Regions from separate parts of the Homo sapiens genome. Here region 1 is linked to region 2. Evidence: promoter capture Hi-C in human tissues and cell types (Jung and others, 2019). All regions are on one chromosome and are shown on one strand. Each heading gives the region's core, a stretch centred on a gene start or on the middle of the fragment in contact. The rest is flanking DNA. Distances are from core to core; before and after follow the strand shown.

Region 1 (3,716 bases), core at 117-2,616, 75 kb before region 2:
CAGAGAAAGGTGAAAAACAAAATAAAGGAATTTTTTAAAATTCAGGATATGAATGAAAAATTTTCCAGAAAGATGGGTATCATAAAGAAAAACCAATTAGAACTCCTGGAAATTAAAGACACACTTAGGGAAATACAAAATGCAGTGAAAAGTTTTAAGAATAGACTAGAACAAGTAGAAGAAAGAATTTCAGAGCCTGAAGACAAGGCTTTTGAATTAACCCAATCAGAATCAAAATAAATGAACAAAATCTCCAAGAAATATGGGATTATGTAAAATGGCCATACCTAGTATAACTGGTGAAGGAACTCAAACAAATCATCAAGAAAAGAACAAATAACCCATCAAAAAGTGGGAAAGGACATGAATAGACATTTCTCAAAAGAAGACAAACAGCCAACAAACATACAAAAAAAATGCTCAACATCACGAATGCAGGGAAATGCAAGTTAAAACCACAATGAGATGCTACATTACTGCTGCAAGAATGGCCATAATGAAAAAGTCAAAAAACAATAGATGTTGGTATAGATATGGTGAACACTTTTACACCACCAGTAGGAATGTAAAATAGTGCAATCACTATGGAAAACTGAATGGAGATTCTTAAAAGAATCTCCAGACTACATACATAGAACTACCATTTGACCCAGCAATCCCACTACTGGGTATCTACCCAAAGGAAAAGAACTTATTGTATGAAATGGACACATGCGCATGCATGTTTATAGCAGCACAATTCACAATTGCAAAGATATAGAACTAACCTAAGTGCCCATCAACCAACAAGTGGATAAAGAAAATGTGGTATATATACAACCACGGAACACTACTCATCCATAAAAAGGAATGAAATAATGTCATTTGCAGCAAACTTAGATGGAGCTGGAGGCCATTATTCTAAGTGAAGTAACTCGGGAATCAAAAACCAAATATCATGTGTTCTCACTTATAAGGGAGCACTAAGCTGTGAGGACACAAAGGCATAACAATGATATAATGAAATTTAAGGGATTGAGGGGATGTTTGGGAGGGGGTTGAGGGATAAAAGCCTACATATTAGGTACACTGCTTGGGTGACAGGTGCACTAGAATCTCACAAATCACCACTAAAGAACGTATCTATGTAAACAAAAACTACCTGTACCCCAAAAATTATTGAAACAAAAAGTGCATCAAAAATAAGAAAATACACAGAGAAGAAAAAAGAATAAAGAACAATGAAGCAATCCTACAGGATCTAGAAAGTAGCCTAAAGGGGTAAACCTAATAGTTATTAGCCTTAAAGAGGAGGTAGAGAAAAAGGTAGGGACAGAAAGTTTATTCAAAGGGAAGGTAACAGAGTTTCCCATACCTAGAGAAAGGTATCAATATCCAAGTACAAGGCAGTTATAGAACACTAAGCAGATTTAACCCAAAGAAGACTACCTCGAGGCATTTATAGTCAAATTCCCAAAGGTCAAGGATAAAGAAAAGATCTTAAAAGCAGCAAGATAAAAGAAACAAATAACGTACAATGGACCTCCAACAGACTTTTCAGTAGAAACCTTACAAGCCAGGAGAAAGTGACATGGCATATTTGAAGTGCTGAAGGGAAAATACTTACCCCAGAATAGTACATGCAGTGGAAATATCCTTCAAACATGAAGGAGAAATAAAAACTTTCCCAAAAAAACAAAATGCATGCTTGTACCAAAATATCTCATATAACCCATAAATATATACACCTATGTACCCACAAAATTTTTAATTTAAAATTAAAAATAATTTTTTAAAAAGCAGGGACTACAGAGAAACCTGACCTGCTACAAAACGAACTAAAATTCATGTCATGGGATTAAGACGCACTCATTAAACCATCCTCAACTAGAAGGAGTTGTTCTCTCAGCTAAAAATACCATGTGGGGCTGGTTGCAACTCTGGCACATCACTGCGTGGCAGTTGATAGCTCAGAACCAAATGAGTTATTGGTGTGTGTGTGTCCTTCCGCATCAGTGGGCAAGATATATCCAAGGACAACCAGGCTGGAAAAGGCAGGTGGCAGTTTTAGTATTTTCTCTCTGCAACCTGAAACTTCGGATCTGAGGCCACTGACCAATTTCTAGAACCCTGTGGGTGGACAGTGACCCAGTTCCCTCTGTAACTGGCGCTGGTGGTGGCGGCCACAGCTAGCGGCCCAAAGAACTGGAAGATGAAGGTAATGGAATAGACCTCTGATGGTGCAACTAAGAAAACAAAATAGGTGGATAGTAAGTGAGAAGGGCAAGGCACCTTGCACCAGGGCCCGAACGGCATCGAGTCTGAAGACAGAATGCGAGGACCAAAGCCAGGCGGAGGAGGCGCTCTGGGGCCAAGGCGCACACTGCCCACGGCCAGCCAGGCACCGTAGAGGAACCGTACTGTGGTCCAGGACCGAGAGGAAAGGGCTTGTTGGGAAGGCTGTTCGTGGCTTTGGAGTGGGACACAGGTATATCTCAGCTTCGGTTCAGCCATTGCCGAAGTACTGAATTGAAACCCGGTGCCTCAGTTTCCTCCTTGCCAGATAAAGATGGTATCCACCTCATCGGGTTACTGTGGCAACACACGAAGCCTTTAATACAGAGCCCGGCTCATAGCAGGCACTCCGTTAGTGTTAGTGAATAAAAATAATAGGAAAGCCCACACCCTGATTGTAAGCCTAGACTGTGAGCTTGATTCATGGGAGTCTGCCTCGGAGGTTTCTCTCACCTCCCCTGACAAGATCCGGGTGCTAAATCTACAGAATGCCGGACTGGAACCAGGAGCCCCCCAGGTTAAGCCCCCACTCCACGCCCCCTCTATGCTACTCACACCTGTCCACCTGAGCCCCTCCCCAACTGGAATCTTCCACACCTGAGTACATTTCCGCATCATTGAACAATCTCCTGACTTCTGATTTGGAAAACAGCCAGATGCACTGATACATTTTAAAGATTTCCCAACTCAGTTTTACTACTTCCAAGAAAGTCCTTCCAAAACAAAGTAGTGAAAAAGCCAAGTAACCTAGACAACTGTGAAAGGAATGCCTTTGTTAGGATCGTGAATATATTTCCAAATATTTGGACATATGTTCTATTCGAACTAAAAGTCTTGCGAAAGAAAAGGATAATCAACCCCTTCAATAATCAGAGTTCTGTTTTTACTTATTTGATAAGATAGAACCCCATTAGAGGCTAAAAGACCCCGTATCTTTATCAAAATTGTCAACATGCAATCAGTTGTTGACTGAATTTAGGCTCCTTTTGTATAATGCAAGGATGTGCATTCAAACAATAAATGCACATTTGGCCCAAAATAAAGTTATCTTGGATAAAAGCTTTATAAATGATACACTAATTAATTCACAAATTAATTATAAGTAGAGTTTTTGTCTATTTTCCTCCATCTGGTTGACAAATACCTCTTCCCACCTTCTAATGTCAACTAGCAGTACCCTGACTCGGGTTCACAGCCAGGGGACCTCGGGGGCAGCGACACCATAGCAAGAAGCTTGTCTTTTATCGCCACCTAATGGCCATTCTCTGTTATTACAATGTACCAGGCCCTTCACACCTACTTGCCGTGCTTGCACAGGTGTTAACAGTTAAATGAGGTGCGGTTTTTTTGTTTTGTTTTGTTTTGTTTTTGAGAAAGGGTCTTGCTCTGTCACTCGGGCTGGAGAGCAGTAGCGTGATCAATGGGCTGGGCTAGAGTGCTGG
Region 2 (3,842 bases), core at 1,181-3,680:
AGATGTAATCAGTTGAGGGGGTCTTGTGATTAAATCATCCTGGATTTAGGGTGGGCCCTAAGTCCAATGACTGGTTGTCCTTATAAGAAGACAAGACAGGGAGACACAGAGAAGAACACCCTGTGAAGATGGAAGCAGAAATTGGAGTGGTGCTGCCACAAGCCAAGGAATAGCAGGAGTCCCCATAAGCTGGAAGACTCAAAAAATTCTCCCTAAGAGCCTTCAGAGGAAACATGGACTTTCAGACAACTTGGTTTCATACTTCTGACCTCCAGAAATGTGAGAAGATAAAGTTCTATTGTTCTAAGCCCCTAAGTTCGTGGTAGTCTGTTATGACATCCCTAGGAACCTAGGAACCTAATATAGAGAAATAAAGGCTATGCTTTTTATGTGGCATGATGGAGATGGCCCCAGAATAGTGAAAGGCCATGGCTCTTCTCCTTCCATTGTGTACACAGAAAAGAACACCCCTTCGAAAGCAAAAGCAAAGGCCAGGCACGGTGGCTTATGCCTGAAATCCCAACATTTTGGGAGGCCGAGGCGGGCAGATCACTTGAGGTCAGGAGTTCAAGGCCAGCCTAGCCAACATCGCAAAACCCCATCTCTACTAAAAATACAAAAAGAATTAGCCGGGTGTTGTGACTCACACCTGTAATCCCAGCTACTCAGGAGGCTGATGCAGGAGAATCACCTGAACCCAGGAAGCGGAGGTTGTGGTGAGCTGGGATGGCGCCACTGCATTCCAGCCTGAGCGATAGAGTGATACGTCTCAAAAAAAAAAAAAAAAAAAAGCAAAAGCGAAAGCAAAGAAAGATTCAAGGGCAGATTTGCAGTGACTTATCATGTCTACAGACTGGGAAAAGCTGGTAGAAAAGAGGAGGAAACCATTCTCAGGAAACTCTACCTTTCAATTCCTCCAGTCATGAGCTCCAGGGTTGGATGCTCCCGCAATGGCAAAACTCCGCTCTCGTTACTGTCATGGGGCCACCACCACCCACCAAGCATCAGCCCATCTTTCCATAATGTCAAGTCTAGAGTGACATTTGTCTAATGTTTGCCTACCTGGAGATGTTGCCCCGCCCACCACCACCAGCAAAAACAACCGGCACCCATCTTATACGGATAATTCCCTACCTAAGGAGTTCTAGAAATGCATGGCCCACCAAAACTCAGGGTGGGTCATGCATTTCTAGAGGAAGAAATGGTGATATGGAGAGAAAGCTTGTCCTAACCCACTTCTACCAAAGTAGGATTAAAGTCAATTTGAAAAAAAACACCCGTTTCTCCTTTTATATAAAAACCAAATGCAGAAACTATAGAGAAATGTAATAAGCTTGACTCTACACAAATACCAAAATACACTGTAAACAAAATTAAAGGTAACTGACAAATTGAGGAAATATTTGCAACGTATATCACAAGCCAAGTTTTCAAGCATCAAAAGTCCTTACAAAACCCATTTTTACAAAGATGAATGTCAAGTTTTAAAATGGACAAAAGACAGGAAAATGCAAATCACACAATAAGGACAAATGGCACTCAAGATATGGGAAAAAGTCTATTCTTCCTACTAAAAAGGAAGTGAATACAATTAAAGATGCCAATTTTTGACAATAAAATGGGCAAAAAAATTTTAAGAAAAAAGAGAATTTCCAATGCGGGCCAAGTATCGGGACACTTACTGGAAGGCAGTTTCCCTCTACCTTTAGAAAGCCTCAAAGTGAGCATATGCTTTGGCCCTGCAACCTCGCTTGTAGGAATTTATCCTAAGGAAACAGTCAGGGGTGACCTCAAAGATTCATCTGCAAGGATATTCAACATGGCTTTGATGCAGGAAAAAAAGTAAATAAATAAAAGGAAACAATGTAAGTCTTCCTAAATTATGCCAAATTCCTATGCTGTCATTAAAAAACATCTATAACTCCATCATCTAGGTGATTTTGACTTTTGCTTTGGACTTGCCTGTACATTTCTAAATTCTCTATGCCAAACATGCATTGTTTTGTCATCAGATTTTGTTTTACAAAAAAAAAAAAAAAATCGTCTTTATGACAAGGGGTTAATAGGGGAACTGTGCTTCCCAGGAATTGACCAGGCGTCTACACCCACCTACTGACTCAAGTTACCTAAGACTGACAGAGCCTTAAGAGGTCAGGAGAGCGCCAGAGCGCGTGACAGGCTCCCTCGTCTCGGTGCGGCCACGCGGGAAGGCAGGGTCCCGGGCGCCGAACAGGGACGGCAGGAGGATCGTTTACAGACGTCTACACAAGAAACTCACTTCCCGTCACCGAAGACAAACGCGAGGCCACACTGACCTCCAGGCCCAAGACGCCCCTCCCCGCCGCGGCTCCTGCTGCCCGAGTGCGCATGCGCGCGCCCAGCCCCCGCAGGCCGGCGCTTCCCAGGAGGCCCCGCGCGCGGGTTTCCATGGGGACGCGCCGGCGCTGCGGCGTTGGCGCAGTCGTGGGAACAGCGCGGAGCAGGTAACGGCCCCGCTGCTGCCGTCGTCCCCCTCAGCCGGTTACCCTGTTACAGCCCCAGCTCTGGGCCCTTCCGGACCCTCCTGCTACGCTCTTTCTGGGCTTCCAGTATCGCCGGTCACTCAGTCCTCGCCCCTGCCTGCCTCGCTGGCGCCCCGCCGTTTCCTCCTCGCGGCACAGTTTGCCAAGGAACAGCTACCCCGGCTCGGCAGTGACCGGGCGCCCCGGCGACACACGTACTCTCAGGCCCGCTGGGCAGGGGGACGGCCTGGGCCGAGGTGACCTAGCGCTCCCGGGGCCGCGCCTGGGTCTGGCGAGGGGGCGGAGGCCGATCTCACCGCCGCCCCACCGAGGGAACTTTGGGGTTTTTCTATCTGAATCTTCTATCTGACCTCCGATTTTGCCTCTGCTTACTTGCTGTTTTGCTTTGGATTAGTTTTTCTTTCTAACCTTAGCGCTGGCATCTCCCTATCTCGTAGGAATCTAAATCTTTTGAAATGTCTTCTCTGTCTGTGTTTGTCCCCCACTCACCCAGCCTCGGGGCTCTTTATCCACACCCTCCCCTCAGCGTGTTAACGTTTCGTTGCCACACTTAAGCCAACGGTTAACTTTTTTCAGAGACCAGTTTTCACGGCTGAATGTGAGCTTGAGCCTTTTTTCTGTCTACACTCAATCCCTAGATGAACTCATCCAGTCGCCTGTACTCAGAGCCTATCTGAATTCCAGTGAGCCCCAAGTGTGCATTCCCAGCCCTCGCCCCTCCCCTGAACACCAGATCCCTGCATTTAGCTGCCTGCCACATCCCTACTTGGATGTCTACGGCATCTCAAACACAGCTCGTCCAAGATAGCGCTCAATAATTCCCCAAGCCAAGCCTGTCCTCCCACAATCTTAATCCATCATAGTTGCTGGAAATTCCATCCTCCAGTTGCCCGAGTCTTGCATCCTGTTTGAGTCCTGTTTTTCTCTTCCTCACCTTCAGTCTGTCAGCACTGCCTTCAAAATGCACCCAGAATAGATTCACAATTCTACCATTTCTCTCAACCGCCACTGTCACCACCTTGGTCCAGGCCCCCATCATCTGGTGCGTGGATTATTTTACTTGCTTCCTAATTGGTTTCCCTGAGTCTGCCCCTCCCCCACTTGAGCATGACAGTCTTAATGGTATTTCCCCGTTCTCTGTTATTTCGTATGAGTAAGTTTTTTAAAGGATTATATAAATTACAATTTCCTTATATAAATTACAACTTCCATAGGTAAAAGTGCAGTATTTTCAGTATGTATTTTGCAAATTGCAACTTTTAAACCGGGTCAGCAAGGCCATATAAGCATCCTGCTAACAAGCTAAAAATGTAAAGACAC

Evidence for each region. The method cuts DNA at HindIII sites, captures the fragments that hold promoters and counts their contacts. A contact is called where the count stands out against the background at its distance.
Region 1: a fragment that was not itself captured here is called in contact with the fragment with the promoter of LCA5L in region 2 in 2 of the 25 tissues and cell types used here (hippocampus and pancreas).

Annotation. Positions count from the first base shown.
Region 1 is chr21:39,518,297-39,522,012 of GRCh38, reverse strand. No RefSeq gene overlaps it. Among named protein-coding and RNA genes, the nearest start is that of SH3BGR, 68 kb to the right of the region's middle. The HindIII fragment of the contact is 5,481 bases long and covers 1-3,716 here.
Region 2 is chr21:39,444,366-39,448,207 of GRCh38, reverse strand. It overlaps LCA5L (lebercilin LCA5 like), which reads left to right and starts at 2,430. Exons shown (of 11, transcript NM_152505.4): 1 at 2,430-2,483. The region is part of intron 8 of GET1-SH3BGR (GET1-SH3BGR readthrough); the gene reads right to left. It overlaps MIR6508 (microRNA 6508), which reads right to left and starts at 1,198; the gene lies at 1,139-1,198. It also overlaps a transcript of SH3BGR not described here. RefSeq lists a silencer at 2,260-2,519. The HindIII fragment of the contact is 9,266 bases long and covers 1-3,842 here.